3 separate regions of the Homo sapiens genome follow, and all the other regions are linked to region 2. The links are contacts of gene promoters, found by promoter capture Hi-C in blood cells and fetal thymus (Javierre and others, 2016). All regions are on one chromosome and are shown on one strand. Each heading gives the region's core, a stretch centred on a gene start or on the middle of the fragment in contact. The rest is flanking DNA. Distances are from core to core; before and after follow the strand shown.

Region 1 (4,632 bases), core at 2,071-4,570, 1.2 Mb before region 2:
GCAGCTAAAGACACATGAAAAAATGCTCTTCATCACTGACCATCAGAGAAATGCAAATGAAAACCACAATGAGATACCATCTCACACCAGTTAGAATGGCAATCTTTAAAAAGTCAGGAAACAACAGGTGCTGGAGAGGATGTGGAGAAATAGGAACACTTTTACACTGTTGGTGGGACTGTAAACTAGTTCAACCATTGTGGAAGTCAGTGTGGTGATTCCTCAGGGATCTAGAACTAGAAATACCATTTGACCCAGCAACCCCATTACTGGGTGTATACCTGAGGGTTATAAATCATGCTGCTATAAAGACACATGCACGTGTATGTTTATTGCGGCACTATTCACAATAGCAAAGACTTGGAACCAACCCAAATGTCTAACAATGATAGGCTGGATTGAGAAAATGTGGCACACATACACCATGGGATACTATACAGCCATAAAAAATGATGAGTTCATGTCCTTTGTAGGGACATGGATGAAGCTGGAAACCATCATTCTCAGCAAACTATTGCAAGGACAAAAAACCAAACACCGCATGTTCTCACTCATAGGTGGGAACTGAACAATGAGAACACATGGACACAGGAAGTGGAACATCACACACTGGAGCCTGTTGTGGGGTGGGGGGAGGGGAGAGGGATAGCATTAGGAGATATACCTAATGTTAAATGACGAGTTAATGGGTGCAGCACACCAACATGGCCCATGTATACATATGTAACTAACCTGCACATTGTGCACATGTACCCTAAAACTTAAAGTATAATAAAAAAATAAAAGAATGTTTATTGTTAGTTGAATTATTATAATATTATTAGTATTCAATTGATGAAAATACCATGAAAATATTATAAATTTGGAGAAAGTATATAAAAGTAAAAATTTTATGGTAAATTTATTTATTTAGTATTAAAGGAGATATATGGGACATTTTAATAAATTAGTTCATGCATAGAGAGATGAATATTACTTATTTTCAGTTTCTATAAATCTAAGCCTGAGAACCTTTACTCTTTTATGTAAGTAGATGAGAATGGAGTTTTGTTTTGTCAGTACTTTGAACTCTTTCCTAGGTATTTGCCAAAAATCAAATCATAATCTATCATCAAATATTATTTTCAGTGATTTGTCAGCTGACAAATTCACTAGGTTTTCCTTCAATTTTGTTGAAAGCAAAGAATTGGAAACCAAGCGGCATGACAGTGAGTCTTGAGAGCTGTTTGTGCCTCTAAGGTACTCACGTGCCTACTCTCAAAAGAGGGAAAATGTCTCTCTCCTCTTTGCTTAGCCTCCAAATTTACAAAGAGGCCTATAGAGTTTACTGTGGAAATGACTGTTATGACAGAAAGATAGAAGAGCTTTTTTGCTTGAACCAGGGAAATATTCTCCAAATCTAATGTCCAAAATGGATGATTCTTATAGCACACATGGCCACCAGCTGAGGTTGTCCAATCCAGTGGGTACGATGGTTTCAGGAAATTGGGAGAACAAAATCACTGTCGAGCTTTTAGGAGTTTAGAGGGAGTTAGCAGAATATTGTAAACTTGTATATTTTGCAAGGTGCTCCAAAAAGGCTGAGATGTTGTTGATCTTTTGATTAATTTCAAGCTCCAAAATGTACCTGCGGTGTCTCTAGCATCCTTTACAATGCCTGAGTGAGAGGGCTTAAGTCACAAGCTCTATCCACTAGACAAGTGTATGCAATATTCTTGTTTGTAGCACCAGGATTTTGAGTAAAATAGCCTTCTTCTTGGATGTCCTCACATTTGTTACCAGAATGCAAGACGAGAAGCTAAGAAGGAACTGGGTTGGACCCAGCAGAACTGAAATGATTTGCAGCCTCTACTCCTCTGATGACACTTTAATGTGACCTTGCATTCTTTGGCTTTCAGGCTTTTTCTCCTCCAACCCCAACTCTTGGGAAATTAACCTCTCTGAAGGCAAAGATACACATCTCATAAAGTTCTTTGGCACCCCAGCCATGTGGCTATAGATGAGGAGACTTTCAGTACCATGAGATCCAATGTCAATAATTTCATCCACTCATTCTTGCTGCACCTGCTTTGCTAAGCAATGTCCTGGGTGGTTTGAAGCCCAGAAAACTGAATCACACATGGAGTGAGACTCTGAGGAGCTAAAAGAAGTTGGTTTTATACATCATAAACCCAAGTGAAGAACCAAAGAAATGAACAATGTAGAAGGAGGCAATTGACAAAGATGAAAGTTAGAATTAATGACATTAAAATAGTAGCAGTAATAAATAAAACCAAAAACAGTTTTTACGGAAGACAAATTAAATATACAAAAGCTGATTCTTTCAAAAGACCAATTAAATTTACAAATACCCAACAAGCTTGATTAAGGAAAAGGAGAGAAAGCAAAACTAACTACAGATATAACAGAGATATTAAAAATTATAAGTAGTATAACATGTAACTCAATGACATCAAATATGAACAGAAATTATATAAGAAATAGATGATTTTCTAGGAAAAATGTAAACCACTGCTATGGTCTGAATGTTTGTGTCCCCTCCCAAATTCATACATTGAAGTCCTAACCCCAAGGTGATGGTATTTGAAGGTGAGCTCTTTAGGGGATGACTAGGTCATGGGAGTGGAGCTCTCATGAATGGGGTTAGTGCCCTTACAGAAGAGGCCCAAGAGAGACGCCTTACCCCATTCATCATGTGAGGACACAGCAAAAAAGTGCTGTCTACAAACCAGAAGGCAGGCTTTCACCAGACACCAAATCTGCTGCTTCCTTGATCTTGGACTTCCCAGCCTCCAGAGCTGTGAGAAACAAATTCCTGTTGTTTATAAGCTACCCACTTAATGAGATTTTGACAAAGCAGTCTGAATAGACTAAGATAATCACCAAAATTAACCTAAGAAGGAGGAGAATACTAAACAGATCTGTCACAAGTGACAGAAGAGGTGAGAAAAGTACTTAGATAGCTTTAATTAAAAACAATTCGGGCCAGGTGCGGTGGCTCACACCTGTGATCCCAGCACTTTGGGAGGCTGAGGCAGGCAGATCACGAGGTCAGGAGATCAAGACCATCCTGGCTAACATGGTGAAACCCTGTCTCTATTAAAAATACAAAAAAATTTAGCTGGGCGTGGTGGTGGGTGCCTGTAGTCCGAGCTACTCGGGAGGCTGAGGCAGGAGAATGGCATGAATCCGGGAGGCAGAGCCTGCAGTGAGCCAAGATCACTCCACTGCACTCCATCCTGGGCAACTGAGCAAGACTCTGTCTCAAAAAAAGAACCAAATTCAAATAGATTTTGAGAGGAGCTAATTATAGTATGTCATTTCTGTTTTAAGCTGTTTTAGATCATAGAAAAAGTTACAAAGTTCCACAATTTGTTTTATAAGGCTACTGCAACCATAATTCCAAACCTATAACAAGACCATTTTCACTTACAACTATAGATAAAAATTCTAAATAATTAACTATACTTATCTAGCAGCATATTTATAGACTGATACAAAGTAATCTGATAGAATATTAAAAATGGAATAATTACCACCTGGAGAGGAGGAAGAAGATACTGAAAAAGTACTCCAAGAAATAATGGTTGAAAACTTCCAAAATTTGGTGAAGTCCAGAAACCTACAAAACTCCAGAAGTTGAGTGAACCCCAAACAGGATAAACCCAAAGAGATCCACACCAAGGCACACCCCAGTCAAACTTCTGAAAACTAAAGACAGAAAAGTCTTGAAAGCAACAAGAGAGAAAAACACCTCCTTACCCACAGGGAAAAACAGTTCAAATGACAATAGATTAATCAAGATCAAACCTCCAACACTAGAAAGAAGTGGCATAACAAGTGCTGAAAAAGAGAACTGTCAACCCAGAATCTTATATTCAGTGAAAATATCCTTCACGAATGAAGGGAAAATCAAAACATTAAAGATGAAGGAAAGCTAAGATAATTTGTTGCCAGCAGACCTACCCTAAAAGATTGGCTATAGGAAGTTCTCTAAACAGGAAATGATAAGAAAAATCTGAGAACATCAGGAAGAAAGCAAGAACAGGATGAACAAAAATATGGTTAAGCCCAATAGTCTTTTCTTCTCCTAAGTTTTCTAGTTTGTTTGACAACTAAAACAAAAATTATAACTCTAATATAGTTCTACCAGCATGTGAAGAGGATGTCAGTGGGGATGGTGGAGCAAGGATCTCAAACCCCTCTCCTCCTCTTTATAAAACTAGCAATAATACTGCTAAGAATTGTGAAAATTAACTTTTTCAGAACTCTGGAAACTAACAAAGCTTGTCACAATCTGGAAAGCACTTACTCAAGAAAAACACTAAGTTGTGGTAAGAATAGCAAGCTTTGTAACATTTTAACGAGCCCTATTTCTGTCTTCCCTGTACAGCTTGGCAGTAGCCTTGGAAGCCAACAGCCCACAGCAGAGGTAAAAGACAGCAGCCCAGCAGCCAGTGGAGGGGCCAGAATGGGGCTGCAGCTTCTCCAAAGACCCATTCCCAGAGAACTGCCATTGTTTGACCTGCTAGTCATTCCCCACTCATAAGAGTTGTCTTTATTTGGTCTGACTCAGAGCTTGCCCAGTGCAAATAACCTTTTCCTCAGTGACATTTGTCAAAAACAATCAGT
Region 2 (4,542 bases), core at 1,336-3,835:
TCTTATGGGGGCAGTCCCAGGATAACCCTCGGCCTTGTTAGTTCTCAGCTCCCCTAACCTGAGCCCAGTGTACAGAAAAAAAAGCCTCCTGCGGAAAAGGACGTGGGGAGAGCACAGCTCAGACACAGTCCACCGTCAGCACAATGCTCTTAGCTCTAACTGGAAGCCGACATCACCCATTTGACAATTAAGAACAGGTAAGTTTAGCAGCTCCAAAACGTCCCCCACTGCCCAGTGCTGCTCCTGTCTCATGGGCCAGGACCTGAGCTGGTGATGGCCTTGGCTGAGCCCTGCCACAACAGGAGACAGCTGGCCACCCTGAGCAGGTGCATCCAAAGGGAGGGAGTGCAGCTGGTCCTCTCCCTCTTGTTAAAAGCAAGAGAGGCTTTCCCAGAAGCTCCTCAGCACACACCCTGTCTGGGCTATTTGACCAGAACTGGGTCACACCCTCTCATTCCTAAAGTAGTCTCTGGGAAAGGGAGACAGTAGACTAACCTGTGGACTGAACAGTCCCTGCCAAGCCAGGCCCGGAAGGAATTCGTATCTTCTGAGCAGGTGACCATCAGATACAAAAAAAAATAAGTGGCTGTTGGCCAGCAAGAAGCAAGTGAGCACTGTGGGCCAGCCAGAGCTTCCCGACCCATGCAAATCAAGGGTTCCTAAAGGACAGGGAGCTGCCATCGCTGCTGAAGCCCAGCCCCCGCAGCTCCATCTGTGCAATTCAGCATATGCCACAGAGACCGGAACACCTGCATTTGGGGGAGTGGGTGTGTGTGGTGTCAAGATATGTCAAAGTTTAAGAAGATTGAAGTTGATAGTCTGCTAATAGAAAACAACTAACCCAGGAAATAAATATGTAAATCATACACTCATAAACTTGATCTTGAAGATCACACGAGCACAGAAGTTCCTAAACTCATTCAAGGCGGAAAAATACAAAAAACGGTAATCTTTATGGAATGCCATGATTCTTGATCAAATTAATCAATCAAATTAAAATAATTTTAATAGCAAAAAATATCTATTCATTATATATGTTGAGGGTGTATCATCCTCAAGCAAGAAACATGCAAGCCAGGCATGGTGCACACCTGTGGTCCCGGCTACTCAGGAGGCTGAGGTGGAAGGATCGCCTGAGCCTGGGAGGTTGAGGCCACAAAGATTGTGCCACTGCACTCCATCCTGGGCAACAGACAAGACCTTGTCTCAAAAAAAAAAAAAAAAAGAAAAGAGGAAAGAAAGGAAGGGGAAGGGGAAGGAGAAGGGGAGGGAGGGGAGGGGAAGGGAGGGGAGGGAAGGGCCAAACTAATTGTTCTTGAGTTTTCCGTTATTATTGGCAGACCTTGGCTTTCCATGGTTCAACTTAGGATGGTGTGAAAATGATGTACATTCAGTAGAAATTGTACTTTAAATTTTGGATTTTGATGTTTTCCTGGGCTAGCAACATGCCCTACAATATATTCTTACATGAGCTACTCCACACTTTATAACATAAACCTTGTGTTAGATGATTTTGCCCAACCATAAACTAAGTGTTCTGAGCACATTTAAGTAGGCCAGGCTAAGCTCTGATGTTCAGTAGGTTGGTTGGATTAAGTGCATTTTTAACTTAAAATATTTTCAATGTCTGATGGGTTTTTTGGGACATAACCCCATCATAAGTTGAGGAGCATGTGTATTGGGTTTGCTTGGAGTTTTTTTCCTTATTTGGTTGTTTTGTTTTCTATCTTATATGAGCAAAGGGGTAAAAGATTTCAGAAAAACACCTGAGAGATAAATCTTAATACCATTCAATCTAGCACATCCGTTAGTAAATTAAGAATGAGGGAAAGCCCACCACTGTCCAAGTGTAAAGGCTGGGCTCCTTGAAACAGCTACAGGGACACTCCAAGTACATCAAAAACACCAATTCAGCCAAAACTTCACATTTATTTTCTGCAAAAGTTACCAAGGCTCACAGATGCCTTTGGGTTTCCCCAAGGTCACCCGGTTAATTATTGACATAGCAACTCCCCTCGCAAAACAAAGAATCAAAATGATTTCCCACGTCCCATGTTGGGATGCATGTTAATGAGGAAGGAAGGCCTCTGCGTGGCGGGGCCTGAGCTAAGTATGTCTAGTCAGAGTCCAAATCCGGGACAGATTTGAAAAGCTTTCTAATCCACCTATACGCAGAAGAATAAAGCTTGGAACTCATTTCAAAAGTTGTTTCTACTGGTGATTTAAAGACACACTCCTCTCTCCCATATGCACATAAGCACAGACCTGCAAGAGCACTGTCCCCTCCAGAGCCAGACACTACAGGCCCCCAGCAAGTGTGAAATCCAGGTGTGACTTTCTAGGCATGGCTTGGTGAGGAAGGGCCTGGCCCACTCCTTGGCTCCCTCCTCCCAGCCAGAAACGGTTAATTGCCAGCTCCAGACTGCCTCCAGCCCAGCCCTAATCGCCGATCTCAGGCGGCTGGGCTGCGCTGGGGCTGAGCGGCTCCAGCCCAGGCTGGGGTTGTGTGAGCAGCAGGAGCATTCTTCCAAGGTAATGATTAAGCTGAGTGCCTGGCAAGGGCACGGGCTGAGAGCACAGAAGGTGAGCCCTATTCACACCTCGGCCAGGCTGCGGTGGCCAGGACTGGTTTGGGAAGGCAGGGCCCCGGTGTGCAGCCACAGCCAGCAGCCTCCTACCTACACAAGGGTGTTCGGGAGCATCTCAGGGCCGAAGACTTTGCTGCCTGCCCTGCCAGGACTTTGTCCTCACCCCTGGCACCATGCAGCTCCAGGTGTTCTGGACTGGGCTGGAATACACCTGCCGGCTCCTGGGCATCACCACTGCTGCAGGTAAGACCCTGCCTCCTGGCTGCTGATCCTTGCACACTGGCACCACAGATAGGGCTGCCTGAGGGGTGGGAGGTGGCCAGGAGACAGCAGGCACATCTGGCCACTTCTGTGCTTCAATTTTTTTCCCAAGACCCCTAGAAACACTGCTCTGTAGAGCAGCAGCAAGTGCAGTGGGGTGAGCCTAGGGCTGGGGACCAGAGGGCTGGGTGCTGGATCTTTGCTTGGCAAGTCACCCTCCCTGTGACCTTGGGAAGCCTCAAGATCCTCATCTGCAAAATGATTCCAGGGGCCACCCCACCTACGCAGAGAGTTGTCATGAGATGGAGGTGGAGACAGAAGGTGAAGATAGAAAGGGCTGGGCTTCGCTGTGTATCTACAAAAGGTCAACTGAGCTCATCCTGCTTTACTCAAACCATAGCCCTACCTCATGGAGAGAGAACTCCCAGTCATGAGCAGCTCTGCCCTGGAGGGACAGGCTGAGCCTGGCTGGACGTGGAGATCACAGGCTTCCCTCGGGCCCATGCTGGACCCTGTTAACAGAACACCCTGTAGGAACCCAGACCCCTGTCTGAGGTCTGACTGCAGGAATGCACTGTGGTCTTAGCAGCAGAGATGCTTCCCAGAGATGCTGGGCTCCTTCCTTCACCCAGCAGAATCACAGGGCTGCTCAACTGGACAGGAGGGCAGACTGTTAGAGCAGAGCCCAGAGCCACCATCCTGAGCCCTGCCTGCTCGCTTCCCCAGGGCAGGCCTGACCCTTAGCCCCATTCCCCCTACAGAGCCAGGATCTGTTTTGGGGAAATGAACAGGCAGAATTCTGAGCCCTTAACTCTGAGCCACATTGTCCCTTGGGGACAAAGAGAGACACACCCCCTATCAAAGCCCTTCCCCACCACTGGGCAAAAGCTTACCCACGGGTCTTACCAAATGGGAAAGTTCTCCTAGGTCAAAATCACATAGTGCTTGTTCCTGCCCCAGCCTAGTCACTTGCGTGATATATGACCTTGGGGAGCCCCTGACCCCTCTGAGGCTGCACTTTCTGATCTGTATGATGGGGACCTGCTGGCCAGGTGTTTGGACAGATTAAGGATGCAGGAACTGAGCATGGCTAAGTGGAACTGAGGATGAAAACCTCTCAGCAGAAGCCCCCATGACACACTCCAGAGCTCAATGGGAAGCTGGGTCATTTCAGGAGCACTGGGCTGGGTTCAGCCGTGAGCTGGCCAGTGGGCTCTTCCAGCATCTAGGCCATGAGTTAGATCATGAAGGGCTGCTGGATGGTTTAACCCCACCCCTCCTGCTACAGGATGGGGCACCTGAGCTCAAATGCAGGTGGTGACCTTGCCCAAGGTCATGGTCAGAGGGACAGCCAGCCCGGAGCCCTGGTCCTTCAACTTTCACAAAGGCCAGGGCTCTGGCCAAAACCTTCCCTGTCTTCCAGAGTAGGCAGCAGGAAGAGGTTCAGAATTGCTCTGCTGAGGCTCTGAGTGGAGGCACTGAGGGAGGAGCCAGATCCAGCCACTTTCAGAACCACGTTGTCGTCTACACATAAGAGAATGATGGCCAAGACCCCCAACAAGCAAAAAAGCCATCCTGGGGAGAGGAAGGCCACCCTAAATAGGTTTCCATGTCTGTTGATCTGAGTCCACCCTGCTCCCTCTAGGCTTTGGTTTCCAAATCTGTAAAATGCCAAGAATCCCACAGTTCCCCC
Region 3 (4,591 bases), core at 625-3,124, 1.1 Mb before region 2:
ACTCCTTCCCTTCTGCTAAGTCATTCCCTTTGGGCACAGAGAGACCTGGCTCTAAGGTAGAGTTCCTACACTCACCAGGTGTGTGTCAATATGGAAATCTCTCCTTTTCTAGAGACCCCACTTCCTCATCAGCAAAATGTAAATATTTAGCACCAGTTTCACAAAATCTTGTGCCTGGCACGTAGTAGTTGCTCAATAAATATAAGCTTCCATTTTCTCTCATGAATTCCTTTAGTGTAAGTACTACTTGTTCATCCACTTGGCATTCAAAGTCTTCCGTGTTTTGAATCACTCATCACACAAACGTGACCTTCTAATGTCTCTGAATGCTAGACTTTGACTTTAATAATAGAAATGACTAATAATATCTTAGCAAGACACTTCTAACTCGGAGTTAGATCCTTCTATCATATGCACCCTGTGATGCAGCTGGCCTAGGACCACTATGGTCCCCAAGAGACAGATGCAGAAATGGAGGCCAAGGCCCAAGTGCCTTGAAAGGCCACTAAGTTAGTGACCAGCTAGCCAGGACTCAACCCACTGACTCTCTTGCCTGAGGTGGCTACAGTCCTTGTCCGGCAGGTCATTAAACATCAAAATCACAGGGTTCTTCCTTTCCAAACGTTCTTACTTTTTTGCCTGTGGAAACCTATTCATTTTCAGGGTCCATCTTTTTTTGTGTGTGTGTAAGACAGGGTCTTGCGCTCTTACCCAGGCTGGAGTTCAGTGGTGTGATCTCAGCTCACTGCAACCTCGACCTCCTGGGCTCAAGTGATCCTCCCACTTCAGCCTCCTGAGTAGCTGGGAATACAGGCACACACCACCATGCCTGGCTAATTTTTTTTTCATTTTTGTAGAGATAGGGTTTCTTCATGGTGGGCCCAGGCTGGTCTTGAACTCCTGGGCTCAAGCAATCCTCCTTCTTCAGCCTCCCAAAGTGCTGGGATTACAGGCATGAGCCACCCTATGCCCAGCCTAGGGTCCATATTAAGACTTTTATATTTCAGAATTCTTCCAACACCAGTGTGATGGGTGTGTGTGTGTGTGCGTGTGTGTGTGTGTGTGTATGTGTGTAGAGAGAGAACATGTGTGATCTGAATGTTCTGGCATTTGTGTAGACACCCTTTGGGGATTCTGGCTATGCCTATATAACAATTTCTCCTTCGTGGGAAGAAAGCAAGGGTAGCAGGCTGTGACCGTGCTTTTTGTTTTTCAGCAAGGAAGAGCCAAGCACCGCATGACTCTTGTAGAAGATGGACTTTGCAGACTGCAAAAGGGGAAAGGAAAGGGGCGTGTGATGTTTGTAGGTGCCTTGGTAGAAAGTCCCTCTTTGCCTAGAAATTATTTAGGCATCCTTTTATAATGCTTCTGGAAGAACAGAAAGAAAAATCTATTTCCTGAATGAGATAAGGATGCTTTTCATTGAGTGTCAGTATTGAACCAGCCCCAACTGAAATGAGAATTGTACTTGGATGTCACTGTGGACCCACCCCCTCAGTCCTAGTAAAACCAACACAAGGGGTTGGGATTCTCCCCGTGCCCTACTTGAAATGATTGCTGGTTCTTGGGTTGAGCTGGCGTTTGGTGGCCGGCACCCATCTGCTATTGCCCCTAGAGGAGGTGAGTATGGTTCTGGGTCCCTGGCTGCTTGGGGCAAGGACACTGAGGTTGAGATCCAGATGTTCCTTGTCAACAATGCTGTAGGAATTAAAGAGTCTTTACAGCCCCTTAGTCCCGACATTTCCATCTCCTTGAGCTGAAAATAATCAAATTGAGGCTGACAGGGGAGTCTCCCCAGGTTGCGGAGTTCCTGTGGGCGAGCCTCCTCCATCTGGGGGACACCTGCACACCTGCAAAGTGCTCTGACCTGGGGACGGTGACGGTGTTGTGGTGAGAGGGATCCAGACCTGCCCTTCAAGAGCCTGCCTTCTGTCTGGGGGTCAGGTAGATGGCTTGCTGGGGAGGGCCACCGTCCTGGAGGCGGATAGGGTGGAGGGTCAGGAGAGGCCTCACAGGGAAGACTTATGCTACAGAGGGGTTATTTTCCTCAGGACTTAATAGGACTAAAACTCCTAAGCTAAGTTTTAAAGTAAGGCTGGGTGCAGTGGCTCACGCCTGTAATCCCAGAACTTTGGGAGGCCGAGGTGGGAGGATCGCTTGAGCCCAGGAGTTCGAGACCAGCCTGGGCAACACGGCGAGATCCTGAAAGTTAGGAAAGTTAGGCTGAGAGGGTCGAAGCCCAGCCTGCCTGGTGCTCAGGACACCCCTGAGCCCTGAATGGGGCTGTCTGGGGCCAGGGGGAGGGTCTGGAGTGAGCGGCAGTAGATGAGCTGCGGCCAAGGTGAGCCCAGACCTTCGTGGGTGCCTCTCTCTGGACCTGGCCCCCCTATGGCAGTGATTTCCGGTGCCTAGAGGGGCAGGGCTGGAAGCACAGAGAGGTGCGGTGGGGGACCGCACCCCTTGTCGGCGTCAGGTGTGGGGTGCAGGAGGCCTTTGCAAAAGGCCCCTCGCAATGCACTGACAATTTCACAGCGTTTATGATTTATAGCCGGGCAAAGTGAGTGGGAGTGGTCACCAAAGAGTAGATTAATGATTCCATTATCACACATCTTAGGTTTTTAGCTTTCTGGAAACGAATGTTCTTTGCTTTAAAACATGATGGCTGGCCTTCTCTGTGAACGGCGGGCCTCCGAGCGTTTCCTGTGGAGCTGGTTTCTGGTGCTGGTGCGCCTGTGAGATGGGCGGAGGGGCTCTGCGGCTGATCTGGAGCTTCCAGAAGCAGCCCTGTGTGTTTTTCCATTGGATGTGACATTCCATAACTAAGGGATTAGTGGACCCTTTGTTGTTCTCAGTCTTCCTAAAATGATGAGAGGAATTCCTCCCAGACTCTCTAGAAGATGCTTTAGAATAAGCTAGAGAGATTTTAAAAAATAATCTTGATGAGGCTTTACAAAAAGAAAGATCGATGGTCAGGGCTTACGTACCATGTAAATTGACACTTGAGACAAGTTAGCTGACAGCCATACTTATTCAAAGATGAATAAAGAGAAAAAGAAAATACACTGTGTGTCCTGGGAAGAGCTTCTGGGGCTTAATGGAAATTAGGAATTACCCTGATAACTAGAGGAAGGTTCACTGATAAGATTAGAAAAGAAAATTTCAGAGGAAAAAAGAATAACTTATCTTTGGAAAAACACAAGAAACCGTGAATAAAATGCATTAAAAAATCTTATAAGTACTGTGGCACTAAAATTTTAGTTAGAAAATTAGCAGAGCAGTGTGCTGGTAAAAAAAAAAATTAATTGTGATTAATTACATAATTCTAACTTAATCTAAATTTAATTTCTAATTAAAATTAGGAAAAAAATGCCCACAAATATATCAAGCTAATTTTAGCCTCCTGTCTATCAGAGAGCATGCACAGGGCTTTGAAGTAAACAAATTCTGCTTGCAGCCAACTTATCGTGTAAATTTGAATTCAAGAAAATAATATTTGCATGCATGCAGGAGCCTGGATAGTTTTTTGTCTCCAAGCTCTCCCTGAAGCTTTCATAACTATCTAATGAATGCATCCAGGAAATGTCAGAGAAGCTGTGGTGAAGGTTCAGTGATGTAAGTGAATAATCAGAGTGTCCCCGAGCCTCCTTTCAGCACCCCCTCTCCTAATTCTACTAATTTACCTCCTCCAAGGCTCTTATGTCCACCTCCACCCCCTCCCCGACCCCAAATCCAAGCTACAACCTGCTAGATTTTTGAGACTTCTGACTATTCTCCAAGGTCTTTCTTGGACTTCAGTTGGGGAAGAGAAAATTACCACACAGGCGTGAGCCTCTGGGGCTCCCCTTCCAGCCCTGGGGTGGGAGCTCCCCTCCAGGTCTTGTTTATCCTTGGTGCTTCTGCCATCTCCAGTGCTCTCCCTGACCCCTGTCCCCTCCCTCCACAGCAGCCATTTCCCTGGGGAAACCTCTCTGCCCATGCACAGCCCATGCCAGTCTCCACTCTTCCAGCAGCTGGCACTGGGCCAAGTGGTCATACATCTGAACCATGGCCATCCCCCTCATCTGTCCCTGGGCATGGGGAGTGGTCTGCTCATCATCCTAGCCTTAATGTAGCCCTTGGCCAGTATGTAGTACCTGTTCAGCGGTGTTTGTTGAAGGAATGAATGAATCCTGCAGTGCTGTGTTGCAGTTGTCCACAGGCTTCCCAGGACTCCACCCCACTGGGCCTGTGTTTTGCTGTTCCTTGAGTTATCTGCATGGATTGAGTGTGCACCGATGCTGTGGGACACGCCAGCCACACTGAGGTCTGGTGGGCAGTTTGGGGATGAGCAGGTCCCATCTTGACCTCATCCTTCAGTTGGAGGGCCACCAGCCGCATGACGTTTTCTGTAAAATCCCGGGGTTGGGGTGGGGAAGTTCCGATTTCTTTCCTGCTCCCTTGGAGCTTTGTGCAAAGCCTCAGTGAGACTGCTCACTGAATTGTATATATTTTAATGTTAATTCGTGCCTCATTTTACTGCCCCCTGCTTTGCACCGCCCTTCACAGACATGTGCAGACACCGAGGGGATGCAGAGAGGGCTGCAGCGGCCTT

Evidence for each region. Contacts are between HindIII fragments. The CHiCAGO score rates a contact against its expected background, and 5 or more counts as called.
Region 1: a contact is called between a fragment that was not itself captured here and the fragment with the promoter of TMEM72 in region 2, in 9 of 17 cell types (naive B cells, naive CD8 T cells, total B cells and 6 more). The highest score is 13.3, in naive B cells.
Region 3: a contact is called between a fragment that was not itself captured here and the fragment with the promoter of TMEM72 in region 2, in 2 of 17 cell types (fetal thymus and total CD4 T cells). The highest score is 7.0, in fetal thymus.

Annotation. Positions count from the first base shown.
Region 1 is chr10:43,722,058-43,726,689 of GRCh38, forward strand. No RefSeq gene overlaps it. Among named protein-coding and RNA genes, the nearest start is that of LINC02658, 55 kb to the right of the region's middle. The HindIII fragment of the contact is 1,927 bases long and covers 2,358-4,284 here.
Region 2 is chr10:44,908,752-44,913,293 of GRCh38, forward strand. It overlaps TMEM72 (transmembrane protein 72), which reads left to right and starts at 2,586. Exons shown (of 5, transcript NM_001123376.3): 1 at 2,586-2,831. The coding sequence starts at 2,762. The region is part of intron 2 of TMEM72-AS1 (TMEM72 antisense RNA 1); the gene reads right to left. RefSeq lists enhancers at 1-187, 188-688. The HindIII fragment of the contact is 1,552 bases long and covers 2,184-3,735 here.
Region 3 is chr10:43,817,291-43,821,881 of GRCh38, forward strand. It overlaps LOC105378275 (a long non-coding RNA gene), which reads left to right. Exons shown (of 3, transcript XR_945906.4): 3 at 1,217-1,454. Among named protein-coding and RNA genes, the nearest start is that of LINC00619, 26 kb to the right of the region's middle. The HindIII fragment of the contact is 3,340 bases long and covers 205-3,544 here.